Regions from separate parts of the Homo sapiens genome. Here region 2 is linked to region 1. The links are contacts of gene promoters, found by promoter capture Hi-C in blood cells and fetal thymus (Javierre and others, 2016). All regions are on one chromosome and are shown on one strand. Each heading gives the region's core, a stretch centred on a gene start or on the middle of the fragment in contact. The rest is flanking DNA. Distances are from core to core; before and after follow the strand shown.

What was found. The method cuts DNA at HindIII sites, captures the fragments that hold promoters and counts their contacts. A CHiCAGO score of 5 or more calls a contact.
Region 2: a fragment that was not itself captured here is called in contact with the fragment with the promoter of FOXN3 in region 1 in 1 of 17 cell types (total B cells); the score reaches 5.5 in total B cells.

Annotation. Positions count from the first base shown.
Region 1 is chr14:89,413,292-89,420,502 of GRCh38, forward strand. It overlaps FOXN3 (forkhead box N3), which reads right to left and starts at 3,942. Exons shown (of 6, transcript NM_005197.4): 1 at 3,580-3,942. It overlaps FOXN3-AS1 (FOXN3 antisense RNA 1), which reads left to right and starts at 4,063. Exons shown (of 2, transcript NR_036500.1): 1 at 4,063-4,505; 2 at 5,869-6,502. RefSeq lists enhancers at 2,794-3,088, 3,103-3,636, 3,637-4,169, 3,794-4,088 and silencers at 3,784-3,993, 4,034-4,323. The HindIII fragment of the contact is 2,355 bases long and covers 2,668-5,022 here.
Region 2 is chr14:89,261,573-89,268,783 of GRCh38, forward strand. The region is part of intron 4 of FOXN3 (forkhead box N3); the gene reads right to left. Among named protein-coding and RNA genes, the nearest start is that of FOXN3-AS3, 85 kb to the right of the region's middle. The HindIII fragment of the contact is 4,938 bases long and covers 1,637-6,574 here.

The sequences.
Region 1 (7,211 bases), core at 2,692-5,191:
AATTCCCCCCACAAACGAACAGTAAGAAAATCAAGCATCTACCTAGAAAACAAATGAACAGGCTGGGCATGGTGGCTCACGCCTATAATCTCACCACTTTGGGAGGCTGAGGCAGGAGGATCACTTGAGCCCAGGGGTTTGAGACCAGCCTGGGCAACATGGCGAAACCCCATCTCTATGAAAAATACAAAAATTAGCCGGGCATGGTGGCATGTGCCTGTAGTCCCAGCTACTTGGGAGGCTGAGTGGGAGGACTGCTTGAACCCAAGAAGCTGAGGCTGCAGTGAGCCATGACTGTACCACTGCACTCCAGCCTGAGCAACAGAGTGAGATGCTGTCTCAAAAGTTTTGAAGAAGGTAAGGAAGAAGGGAAGGGAATGGAAGAGAAGGGGGAAGGGAACGGAAGAGAAGGGGGAAGGGAACGGAAGAGAAGGGGGAAGGGAAGGGAGAAGGGAAGGGAAGGAAGAAGGGAAAGAAGAAGGAAAAAAAGAAGGGAAGGGAAAGAAGAAAGGAAGGGAAAGAGAAGGGAAAAGGAAGGGAAGGGAGGGGAGAGGAGAGGAGGGGAAGGGAGGGCAAGAGAAGGGAAGGGCAGGGAAGGGCAGGGCAGGGCAGGGCAAGGGGAGGAAGGAGGAAGAAGCGGGAGGGGGAGGAGAAGGGGGAGGAGGAGGAGGGATGGAGGAGGAGGAGGAGGAGGAGAAGAAGGAGGAGGGATGAATGAACATATTTAAAAGCAAAGACATAGGCCAGGCATGGTAGCTCATGCTTATAATCCCATCACTTTGGGAGTCTGAGGCAGGAGGATCCCTTGAGCTCAGAAGTTCAAGACCAGCCTGGCCAACATGGTAAAACGCCATCTCCACCAAAAAAATACAAAAATTCGCTAGGTGTGGTGGTGTGTGCCTGTAGTCCCAGCTACTTGGGAGGCTGAGGTGGGAGGATCACTTGAGCCCAGGAGGTTGAGGCTCACTGCACTCCAGCCTGGGCAACAGAGGGAGACCCTGTCTCAAAAAAATAAATAAATAAAATTAAAAAGGCAAAGACATGACCCTTCTATGTCTCTTAAATGTTCATTAACACCACATCTAAAACAACTGCCACTTCAGCTGTGGAAGCTCTATTAGGGAATTCTAGAAGGCATAATCCTGGGCACTAACCTACCAGCCAAGGGTGCCTGTGAATTATAGTACCTTCCCTCTTCCAAAAGGTAGAACCTGCTAGACGCAAGGCCTAAGGGGGAGCTGTGGTGAGAGGCCCAACCGGTTTTTTTTTTTTTTTTTTTTGAGACAGAGTCTCACTCTGTTGCCCAGGCTGGAGTGCAGTGGTGCAAAATCCGCTCACTGCAACCCCTGCCTCCCAGGTTCAAGAGATTCTCCTGCCTCAGCCTCCCAAGTAGCTGGGACTACAGGCGTGTGCCACCATGACTGGTTAATTTTTGTATTTTTAGTAAGACGGGGTTTCACCATGTTGGCCAGGATGGTCTCAATCTCTTGATCTCGTGATCCACCCGCCTCGGCCTCCCAAAGTGCTGGGATTACAGGCGTGAGCCACCGCGCCTGGCCAAGATGCCCAACTCTTAAGGAGAGAAAACTTCATGAGGCATTGCAGTACAGACCAGGCAGGATGCTCCAGACGTCTTGGGTTCACTCACAGGGAATATTTCTTTCTGTCAAATAAGGAGGTTACCCTGACACATTTCAGACAAAAAACAAGCTAGCATCTTTTGGCTTGGGGATACAACAGAGTCTGGTCTGATCCTGCTTTTAACTTCTTTATGAACGAATTATAGCACCACTTGTCTTTCTTAAAGTTTCCTCAGATCCCATCAGAAAATTTTCTGATGACCAGCATATGCCCACAGTAGAGTATAAAACAGAACTACCCAGCCACTGAAGTCAACTTTAGCTCTAAATGAAAGTTTTATGTCTCCTGAGCTTCCAAACAGGAAAATTATATCATGGCTGACAGTAAAGTAATTTAATTGCACTGTTGCTATGACAACATGCTGCTCTCTTTCTTTTTAATTTGCTTATTTGTCAGTAGCTTCCCAGAGGAACTAACACGCTATTCTCCATGTTTCCTTTTGTTTTAAACAAACACTGCCAGCAATATGGTTTTAGGAGAAAAAGTGGCATTGTCACGAAGAGAGGGTTATGGGAGTTCAGTACCCTTGGATCATGTGTGCGTTTTGTGCTGGGACCCCGTACTCTCCAACCACTCACTGCATCCCTATAAATCCCGCATTTTATACCAACAGGGTGAAGAGCTGCTGATCACTACAGTTCCATGTAAAAACAAAACAAAACAACAATAACCAAAAAAAAAAAAAAAAAAAAAAAAAAACAGTTCCCAGAAACCACAGCTGAGGAGTTTTCCATTATTATACTCTAACTACAGATTTCGCCAAATCTTTTTTTCCTCCTGTTTCAGAGGGAAAAAAAAAGAATCTGGATCATGTGAGTTGCAGTTAAGCAAACATTTTTAATCTGCTGCCAACAAGGCTGCTCCACCAGATACGCAAATAGTTATTCACTGGTGACCTCCTTACAACTTTTCTCTACACACACACACACACACACACACACACACACACACCCTCTTTTGTTTTTTTTATGACTTGCTGTGTTTTGTTACCCTCTTTATTTTTTAACGGAGAAAATGCGGCAAGAAAGCTTAGTTTCTCGCCTAGTAAACAGAAGGTCTCCAAATAACTGACAAAGACATTACTGGCCCAGCTCTGAACAGATGTTCGATGCGAACTTTAAAAAGTTAAGAAATCTTCCCAGAGCCGAGCAGTAGCGAGTTTGGGGGGCCGGGTCACCCCCGCCCACCCAGCACGCGCGCGCGCGCACGCACGCGCTTCACTCTCGTCTACTGTACTTGTCAAAAACATTTCAAGGGGACCTGCGGGAGTGGCGATTGGCTGCACCCCGCGTCAATCAGCGGCGTTGCCGGGCAACGGGGGAAACTGCTCTTATCCCCATATACAGGGCAATTGGGAGCTCGCATACCTTCACTGCCGGTCAGATGTCATAAACCTTTTATTGGCCGCACCGCGGCGAGCCTCGAAAACAAATCAATAAAAGCCCGCCGTCCCCCAACTTATCCAGGGCCCAAGGAGGGTTTCAAACAGGGCCGGGATGAGGGGGGTCGGGCCTCGGGGGTCTCCGGAGACGTTCGTTGCCTGTGCCAAGTCTGCACAGTTTGGCCGGGGGGTGATCTTTGTTAGGAGCCTGTTTCTCATCTTGGGGTCTCCACTTGATCGGAACCCCCTCCCCGGCCCGGAACGGCGGGGACCCCGTCCTCCGCAGACAATACCAACTCTGTTCCTTGCGGGCGTCTTTTCGGAAACCGAGGCACCGGGAAGCAGCACGCACGTCGGGGCAGGAAACTCTTCGGACCCGGCAACTTCCCGGCTCGGGGGCTCCCGGGGTCCACACCCGACCCTCCCCCCAGGACCTGCGGGGTCCCTCGTCTTCCCAGAGCGGCGAGGTAGTCTCCAGGACCGTCTCGGACGCGCCTCCCGCCCCGGGTGCCCCCCGAGCCCACGCGGGAGCCGGCAGGAGCGGGGTGCAAACTCACCTGGCCGGAGCGGGGCACGGGGGTGCGGGGGCGCCGCTGCCCTTCAGCAGGAGCCGACAAACTTTCGCGGGCGCCCGGCGGGCATCGCTCGGTGGCCCCGCTAAGGACGCGCGGGCGCGGCGCGGCGAGCCCGGGGCGGCGGGCGGCGGGGGGCGGCCGCGGGCGCGGGCGGCAGGGGCGCGGGGGTCGCGGCGCGGCATGGGACCTGCGGCGTCCGCCGGGCGCGCCGCGCGTCCTCCCGCCGGCCCCGCCGCTCTCCCCGCCCCGTCCCGCCTCCCGCTCGCCTCCGCCGCGGCGCGTCGGGCCGGGGCGCGCCGAGCGGCGAGAAATTGTTTCCACTGCAAACAAAAAAAGGCGACACATGACCAGGCAGGAGGAGGGGAAGCGCGGGGAGGGAGGAGGGCGGAGGGAGGGACAGAGCGGAGGGCGGAGGGAGCCGGAGAAAGGGAAAACGTGGGCCTGGCCGCCAGCGGCCTGGGGCGCGGGGCACTGACCCGCCGGGGCGGACCCTGCCCGCGCCCCTCGCGCGCCCCAGCACTCAGCCAGGGCGGAGGCCGGGGCTGGGCCGCGCGGCCTCGCCTCTTGGGCCCCGCGGGGCGGGGGTGACCGGCGCGGGTCCCGCGACCCAGGGCGGCCGCGACCGTGGGCGGTGGGGCAGGTGGGTCAGGCGGCGCGTGCCCTGTCCCCTCCCCGGGCTCCGGCCACACGAGCGGGCCGGCGCTGCGCTGCTGGCAACGTGTCGCGGGAACGCTCCTACCCCATCTGCATGCCTTACATGGCTCGAAAGTAAAAATAAAAAGAATTACGATGCGGGCGAGGCTTGTGGGGGTGAGAAGAGGAGATTCCACGTCTCCCCAGTGCTGCGTCCTGATAGGACCCCCAGGGCCTTCCGAGCCCTCTCCCAGCGACCACCTCGTGTCCCGGAGGTAAGCACCGCAGCGTCCCACCCAGGTGGCCGCGTGTCTCCCGAGGGAGGGCCGGTGGCCATTACAAGACAAGAGGCACCGTCCTAAAGGCCACGCCGGTGGGGCCTCTCAAGTGGGTTGTGCGGAACGCCCCGGCCGGCCTAGAGAGAAAACAGGTCTCATTTCCATCTCAGTTTGAGCTCTCAGGAACCAGACTGACAATTCGCAAGCCACCCAGCGAAATGGTGCAGCCACCACTCTAAGTCTCTAGGCACCTCCAAATAATAGCACCCACTGCTAAAGCCACACCAACCAGCCGCCTTGGGAGAGGATGAGAGGAGAGAGTCCAACAGGACACCCTGGTGGTGACAAAAATAAAAATGTGATTGCACATTACTCCCAGGTAGCCAAATTGGTTGGTTCCTCTACAGAGGAGAAGCCCAGGGCACCCTTCCTGCCACCCCCTCCTGAGCCAGTGGACAGGACATCGTGAGCGGTCTGAAAACTACAGAAAAAAACAGCGAGTAGACCTGGAGAAAGCTTTCTAGCATGCAGTACTTTTAAACCTAGCCAAAAGGAGGGACTAAGGGAAACACCAGTTAGGCTTCTGAAAATTTTTTCTGTCTCAAAAAATAGACCCCCCCCCCCCAATCTGAGAGTCATTCCCCCTAACAAAGGTTCAAGAGGGCAGGTGACAAGTCTTCAGCAAAGATGTGCCTTTCAGACTCACCGGAGACCTTACTACTTCCAAGTTGTGTGGCATCTCCCCATCTGGAGACAATTAGGAGGTGGAAGCCCAGGGGTAGCCTGAGGTCATCCAGCCCCACCCCTTTGATTACTGAGCACTTGATGCGACCTACCCAAAGTCACTAAGCAAAAGGCACAAGGTGGCAGAGACAAGTCAGATGATCTTTGAAGTCTCACGCCAGAGATTCTCAGGGTTAGAAGTGGTAACAAAGCCAGGATGAGACAATGTGTACCCTGCTTTCCTGTAGCTCCGGCTAATGCAGGTCCTGCCCCTCCATCAGCGCGTCAGTTGAGGGTGCTTATTCTCCGCCAGAGGAACCAAGGCCAGAGACCTTTGTCCAAGCCCTTGCTGGCCTAGAGAGGACGAAGTCGCCCCCTTACATCTTCCTCTTCCATCCCCAGCCCCCAACCCCACCCCCAAGTCCCCCAGCTACACTCACACAATAGCCAGAAATCTCTTTATATTAAGTAGAGGTGGCACCTTATTTTCACCGGCCCCAGTCCCCTCCTGCTTTCTCAGAGTTCAAAAAGAGGGGATGTGAGCCAAAGGTGATTGTACATGGAATATGTCATTCCATGTGTGTTTTTGCTTCTTGCATTCTCAAACATATTTCTTAATTTCTCTCTCCCATTACAGTTGCAGCAAGAGATGTGAGAAGGTGTCACCCTGAAGAGGAAGTGGTGGACCAGCCCTGCCTGATGTGGACAGCAGGGGACACATGTCTGCCTGTCGGTCTATCTGAAATGGGGGAAAAAATGCTGAAAGCCAAAGGAGGGCTTAATGTGGCCTTTTCCACCTTCTAATTCCATAGAACCTCAGCTCTGGGACTTGCTTCCTGACCTAGGGTGCAGGGGCCAAATTTGTTTGGGAACAACCCCATTCACAATTCCCCATGAACTTTCAGAAAGGACCCTTGCGTCTTAGGTCCTGAGAAGTCACAAATAAGCAAGCTGCATTGTCTAATGTCTTGTCTACACTGTTTTACAAACACATTTAACAGCCGAATTGTATATGTGCCCTAGAAATCACTTTGAGAAACACTTATTTCCTGATAGAGGACTTGATGGGACCATTCTGCAGCCCCATCTGAGCATGGGCTGGAGAGTACATAAGTATCTGGGAGCTGGAAGTCCTCAATTCCAGGCTTATCTGCCCCCATCAGCGTGGGACCTCAGTTCCTCCTCCAAGGAGAAGAGCGCCCCTCCCTTGATGTTTTGTGCATTCTTTTGCTAAATGTTTCTCTGGTCAAGAACTTTAATCCCCCTACACACACACTGTATTGGTTATTAGAGCAGCATGGCTATTTATGGAATAGTTAAGTATAAAACCCGATATACCTTGCCCCCCTTGAGGCAGTACAACTGAGTAGGTGAGCAGGTGCAGTCGGGAAGACCTGAGAGACTGCCCAAAATAGGAAGAGTCCGAGGCAGGCCTGGAAAGACAGTCTTCTGGGGAGGGATCCTGCAAAGAGACTCCAGTACAAAGGATATATGAGAGGAAATACGGGGAGGCTGGGCAGGCACACACCGCTGGCCTGCACAGAACCATATTCCTTTCGTGCTTCCCTCTATAGGTGACTCCACTCTCTACCCTGCAGGTTGGCTTCCTCTGCTCAATGATAACCACACAGGGCTGCCAGCAGCAAGCCCTGAGGCCTTCTGACTTTTAGCACCCACCACCTTTGAACTGCCTCAAGCCTTCCATGACATAGTTTAACTTCTCAGGGAAATAGTGCGATTGGCCTAGCCTGAGTCACATGACTCCCCTACGCGCATGGCCCCCCACCACTCCCTACTGCTAACAGCTGAGACAAGGGACATGGTGAAACATCTGGGGAAGGGAGGGGAGATGACTTTGGAAGTGGGATATCTAATAAGGGTGGGTTGCTGTTTAACCTGTGGAAATGGGGAAGGGGTGTTCTTGACCTGAGCTTCTCACCTGGGGATGCCCATCAGAACCATCCAGAAGCCACACCTAAC
Region 2 (7,211 bases), core at 2,856-5,355, 150 kb before region 1:
TGCCTGAAGTCAGGAGTTCGAGACCAGCCCAGCCAACAGGGTGAAACCCTGTCTGTACTAAAAATACAAAAATTAGGCCAGGCGTGGTGGCTCACACCTGTAATCCCAGCACTTTGGGAGGCTGAGGCGGGCGGATCACGAGGTCAGGAGATCGAGACCATCCTGGCTAACACGATGAAACCCCGTCTCTACCAAAAATACAAAAATTAGCTGGGCGTGGTGACAGGCGCCTATAGTCCCAGCTAGTCGGGAGGCTGAGGCAGGAGAATGGTATGAACCCAGGAGGTGGAGCTTGCAGTGAGCCAAGATCATGTCAACTGCACTCCAGTCTGGGCGACAGAGCGAGACTCCGTCTCAAAAAACAAAACAAAACAAAACAAAATTAGCCAGGTGTGGTGGTGGGCACCTGTAGTCCCAGCTACTCGGAAGGCTGAGGCAAGAGAATTACTCGAATCCAGGAGGCAGAGGTTGCAGTGAGCCGAGATCGCGCACTGCACTCCAGCCTGGGTGACAGAGAGAGACCCTGTCTCAAAAGAAAAAAAAAAGGAGAAGAAGAAGAAGAGAAGGAGAGTTTATTCCAATTTGATGGCTGGAAAAGAGAGCTGGACTGACCTGAGAAGGGGCAGGTTTTACCACCAGTTTGCCTGTGACTCAGGGCAAGCCCTGACTCTGGGCCCAGTTTACTTGTCTATTCATTGAGGATGGGGCCAGCTAGGTATCTAAGAAACCTCCTCGTTCTAAAATGCTATGATTTAACTTAGACCCTGCACACACACAAATATGCAAACTGGAGGCCAGTGTGATCTGTGGCACTTTGCTGCTATCACAAAAATAATGATCCCAGACACATAGGAAATACTATTTAAACTACCTTGTTCCAAGAAAACAAGCTTTTTATTAGACATTGGAGAGGGGAAAGGATCAACTAGAACAGGGAAAATATGCTAAAGAGGAAGAATTCAAGAGTTAAACTAGTCAAAATCAGGACATGTGGGTAACTAACCTTAACTAAAAAAAGAAAATATTGTCTTAACTCTTTCGGGAAAACAAATACAAACATATCTGAGATTCCCTGTGCCCCTGAATATGGGGCTAACAGAGTCTTTGGTTCAGAAACACTCTCAAGATAAAATCTATGTCGGAGTATTAATATTAAAATGATGCTAATTTTTTTTTATTACAACACATTCTTAAGACATTTGGAAACCTAAGAGGCAGCATTAACCACTCAGTATTTACAAAGGGCTGATGTATGGAGACTTTCAGTTTAATTGAAGATAACAAATGGTTCACTGAACTGACAGGCAACCTTAATCATTTCAACAAATTCTGCAGAGAAAGAGGATTCTTTTCAAAGCGAACCTCTAAGGTACTGGTATAATTATATATGTTTCCCGACTAAAAAGATCTTGGCTATCCCATATTCCACTGGAAATTATAGATCGCAGTGAAATTGGCCTGCTTGTTTTTAAATCTCCAAAGTTTTCAAGCACAATGTTTTCTGCCTAGAAAAACGCTTGCTATGAAGTTTCAAGGTTTAAACAATAGTTTATAAAACAATTACTTCACCGACATATTTAACCATCAAGATATTATGGTGGAAAGAGAAACCACTTTTGTCTACATAAAATTTTAAAGCTTATATAATTTACCAATGTGTTTTGGCAAAGGCCTTCTCAAGTTTTTGCTGAAGGGTTTTCATTTTTTTCCTAATTTCACTTATAGTCACATAAGTTCATCTTAACTTACAGTTGTGAACCTAACTCTCTGGCAATGAATTTTTGAAGAAAAAAAAAAACCAACTCATTCTTGGGAGAGACTGACATTCAGTAATCTTTGCCAGCTGGAATGTTCAAAATGGAATCTAAATATTGTATTAACAACATCAATAACAAGCAGGTTTGGAGAGACTTTATAAAATATGCTTGAATTGTGATAAAAATTCTTGTTACTTTGTGTTTCGCTCAGCTCTAAATTACCACTTGATTTGATAAAATCTATGACAATCCTATTTTTTAACCATGTAAGAATTCTGAGGCTCACTACATGTACATAATAAAAATCTGAAATCAAATAGGTGTAATGAAATTGCAGCTGCCCAATCAGTTTTGAAACTTTCTATTGGAATAACGTATGTCCAGCAAAGCCCTTGTATGTGTACAGCTCAGTGAATTTTCCCAAACAATTTACCATGTAATTGCCAGGGTGGTGCCTCACGCCTGTAATCCCAGCACTTTGGGAGGCCGAGGTGGGGGGATCGCCTGAAGTCAGGAGTTTGAGACCAGCCTGATCAACATGGTGAAACCCTGTCTCTACTAAAAAATACAAAAATCAGTCAGGCATGGTGGCAGGCACCTGCAGTCCCAGCTACTTGGGAGGCTGAGGCAGGAGAATCTTGCTTGAACCCAGGATACTGTAGAGGTTGCAGTGAGCCGAGATCACGCCATTGCATTCCAGCCTGGGCAACAAGAGTAAGACTCCATCTCAAAAAAAAAGAAAGAAAGAAAATTTACCATGTAATCAGCACCCTATGAACTAACAGGGGGCTCTTGGCACCTGAGGAGCCCCCCTCTTGTCCTCCCTAATCATTACCTTGCACTCTGTATTAGTCCATTTTCATGCTGCTGATAAAGACATACCCGAGACTGGGTAATTTGTAAAGAAAAAGGTTTAATGGGCTCACAGTTCCACATGGCTCAGGAGGCCTCACAATCACAGCAGAAGGCGAAAGACACATCTTACATGGCAGCAGACGAGAGAGAAATCAAGAGAGCCAAGCAAAAGGGGAAAACCCTTATAAAACCATCAGATCTCATGAGACTTATTCACTAACATGACAGAACAGCATGGGGAAATCACCCCCATGATTCAATTATCTCCCATGGGGTCCCTTCCCATAACACATGGGAATTATGAGAGCTACAATTCAAGATAAGATTTCGGTGGGGACACAGCCAAACTATATCACATCACAAGGATAACCAGAACCTTGGCCTGTCTTTGTATACTGTCCTTGGCTGGGGCAACATACAGCCAAGGTGATCAGATGAGAATCAGGCCCAAGAAGAGCAGGAACACCCTCAGGGTGGGCTCACAAGGAAAGGGCTCCCCATGAGTTTCCATCGTCAGGAACCTGGCTATGAGGACGCTACTCAGTTTCCACAAACAAGTGCCATCCACATCAGGAGGATGCTGGTACCACCTAACCCCAAAAGAAACAGAATCAGTTCCTTCTCAAGTAGGATTCCATGCAGCTATCTTCATCATCAAATCAAAATTCTCAAAGACTTCTACATCCCCCTCCTATCACTGCTGCAATAATTCTTACTGATGATAACAACAGCTTCCATATATTCATTCCTTACCAGGTGACACTGTGCTAAGAATGTACACATCTTTTCACAGATGTTCAAAGAGCATGATATTGAGTCCAAGAGGCACCAGTCACCAAATTATTATTTGGATTTTCCAAATAATAATTCCCTGTGTTCAAACTGTATGTCACAACCTTTGCCTTTGCCTTCATGATCTTATTTAGAAATTGTATTATGAAAGCTCCTGTAGCTCCTGTATGGTGTACAGGGCAGGTGTTAATAGCTTTATCAGCTAGTAATCTTTCCATCTTTAGCGATTTTTAAAAACCGAATTGAAGAGATTTTATCGCCTGTGACTGGGAAAACCAGGAACAGTGATGCCTTTCAAATGGCATTTACCAAGCCCTACTCTCTGTCCCCCAACTCAGCAACGCTGCTGGTGAAAATAGGCTTGGACAGGCTCTCCTCTGTTCACAGGTGGCTGCCGGCAGCCCCTGGGGCTACAAACAGCAGCTTTGAATCTAGCATTTCCCCAGTGTTCACTGGAAAAGGTCTGAGAATCACTGTAATCAGACCAGCCTCTATCACATGACCACCCAGACACACCAGTGTAGCCAGAGGAATGAGAGTGACTTAAACTAGTGGTAGAGACGTCACTTGGAAGCACACAGATGAATGAACTGGGGGGATGGAGGGCTCTCCACCTGCAAGCCAGGGTTAATGCCTAAAAGAGGGAAAAGGAACTGTCCATTATAGCAGCACGTCCACTTTTAAAAACAAATCATAGACCCCAAAAAGGTAAAATTACACATGCAAGTATACACAGCTAGTAAGTGGAAGGTCCAAGGCCAGACTGCAGATCGTCCTACTTGAGACTCTTTCAGCTTTCTTTTCATGCTAATTGCTATTATTCATGGGTGTACAGAACTGCCAAGGTCTCGGGGCATACGGTGATGTAGGTCAAGTTAAAACAATTTCCAAGAGGCCCAGAATCTTAGTTGATGATGACATTCACGTTCCCTGGTAGGGTGGGAATGCCTGAAACAGCCTTAGCCAGACTTGCCTCACTGGTGGTGAAGGAGGAGTGCAGGGTGGGACACAGCTGCCCATTACTGTGGATTTATCTTAAGCAGCCAACCTTGGGATCTTCCCAAACTGCCCTTAGCAGCCAAAGTTGACCCCTACAGTCCCAGCTTTGGGATACAAGGTGCTAGGACAGTTGGTAAATATATTAAGTCAGTTCAGGCTGCCAGAACAAAATACTAAGACTGGGTGGTTTAAAGAACAAAAACTGATGTTCTCACAGTTCTGGAGGCTAGAAGTCCGACATCAAAGAGCAAAGAGGTGGCACGTTTGGGTTCTCCTGAGGCTGTCTCCCTGGCTTGCAGGTGACCGACTTCTCACTGTGTCCTCACGTGGCCTTTCCTCAGTACATGTACATTCCTGGTATCTCTTCTTACAAAGACACCAGTCCTTATAAAAACTCCTCCTTTATGTCCTCATTTCATCTTAATTACCTCTTTAACGGCTCTATCTCCAAATTCAGTCACATGCGGGGCGGTGGTGGTGAAGGCTTCAACATATAAATTTTGGAGGCGGCTGGGGGGGCGGTGGAGATGCAATTCAGTCCATAACAGTAAGTTACATGGATATATTTTACAAACCTTCATTGATCTCCTACCGTGTGCTGGGTAACCTGCAAGGTGCTGGAGATAGAGATAAGAAAACTCCAGCCTCAAGGAGATTACAGTCTGGCTGGAAGACAGAAGTAACGGGATAACCAAACAATCTTAGTGGTTCCTGCCATGGCGAATGAGCTCAGATCCTGGGGGAAATAAGTAAGGTGTCAGGGAAGACTCTGCTGCTTATACGAGAGGCTGCTGTTGCTGCCTCTCTTAAATCTACCCTCCTGACCGGCTCAATATGGTCAACTGTGCACTTCTCCATCACAATGTCACTCCAGGCCCTAAAACAAAAGAGACGCCATTGTATTTGCAGCAACACCAAAAGCTCATTTGGCGAAGCTCACCCAGTAATGAGGCTCATACCAAAGGCACGAGCCATGAGTCAATGCACAGACAGCACTTGAGCATGACACGTGTGTATGTAAAAGCAAAGGGGAAAAGTGATGAAGCAGGATGCGGGGAGAAAACATCACCATCTCCCTTTTAGGTAGTTTACCTTCTTCCCTTCTTCCCTACAGGAAAAAAGACAGGGAGATGAAAGAAATGTGTTTCAAGCAGTTGAGGGGCAATTCTGATAAAGGTACTGTGAGCAGGTTTGACCCTGAGGAGATGAGGGTGGCTACACAGTGGGTTCTCAGGGTAGACGGTACAATTTAAATCTTACATTTAAATGAGGCATATAAGGAAGGGCTGGGAACTAACATGGGAAACTGCTGCAGGATGGTGAGCACTGCATCACGTGATTACAATGCGCAAGTTGGCCAGGATCCCTGGCGCTGCAGTGGTCATAGCTGGGCTGACGCTGGAAAGACAGGGAAGCAGCTGCCTTCGCTAGGTTAGGTGGCTCACCAGGTAGACCAGGAAGCAGGGGCTGGGGCGGTGCTCTGGCTGGGGGAGGGGAAATGGAAGGACAAGTGAGGTAGCAGAAACTCAGATCACTATTAGTCTAGCATGCCTTTGCATTTCTCTCATTATCCAATCTACTTAGGAAAAATAATAATAATCACATCTCAAATCAGTATAATTTGAAGAGTAATTGAGTAAAGAAAATCCAGGTCAGAACCAAAGATATAGCCTCTTCAATCTCACTTGCTAGTTCCCAACTTAATTTTTAAAATTAAGACACCTCTAATGAGACTCAAAATTGTTCACAATGAATCTAAAATGCAGTGAGGGGAAGATCAGATGTTAAAAGAGAAAATGTGTTCCATTTCCAAAACGATCAGAGTATGCGTGCGTGTTGGCGGTGGGGGCCGTGGCAGGGGGTGAACACAGTTCTTCTCTATATAAGGCCATCTAACTATAAATGGCATTGGTTGGACATGTGAGTCAATGAACTTGGAGGAAATGGGGATTGCCTAAAATAGCATTTGTGCTATAGACCTGAATTTAGCATTTGAGGGACCTGGCTTTGAATCCTGACTCTGAAAATCCTTCATAATAATACATACACACACATACACACACACATGCTCATCACACTTAAACATATATGCACCTACACACACATACAGCTACACATTAATTTACACATATACATATATGCTGCTTGGTTTAGCCAAATGCTCGACTTTAAGCTTCTGTTTCTTCATCTGTAAGATCAGGAAGATACCACCTACCTCTCAAGAAGTAAGTGAAATTACATGTAAGCCAGGTCTCTGCAGCTATAATGGGGGATACGTGGATGTGAGGAGTATTACTACTATGATCCTACTTTCTTTAAATCAAGTCACTGTCTCTGAAAACTCTCCAAGCTCACCTTCTATTCTCTCAAGGGACAGTCAAACCACTAAGTGGGCCTCTTAAGACAACAAAGAGGCTGAAATGACACTGACACACAGAAATCACCAGTGCTGTATACTTAGTTTAACTAACACTGTTAATTAGAAACACTGTATTCATCATGACTCTCGACTGTACATAAGAAAAACCCAATTCAAGCTGGCTTAAGTATAAAGGAGAATTGATGAGCCCATCAAATCCAGCCACAGGTAGGGCAAGGAGAGAGTGGCCCCTGTCTGTGCGTCTCTGGGCTGGTGCCATTTCCCGTACCCCAGCAGATTCCATGTGCAGGGCTCGTGAGGCCAGCACACCCTGTGGAGCTCCCAGAGCCAGGATGTGAAGCCTAGGGTGGAATTCTGGCCTGGACTGGGCCACGTGCCTATCCCTCCACCAGTCACTAAGGCCAGGGAGTTTCTGTAAGAAGCTGGCA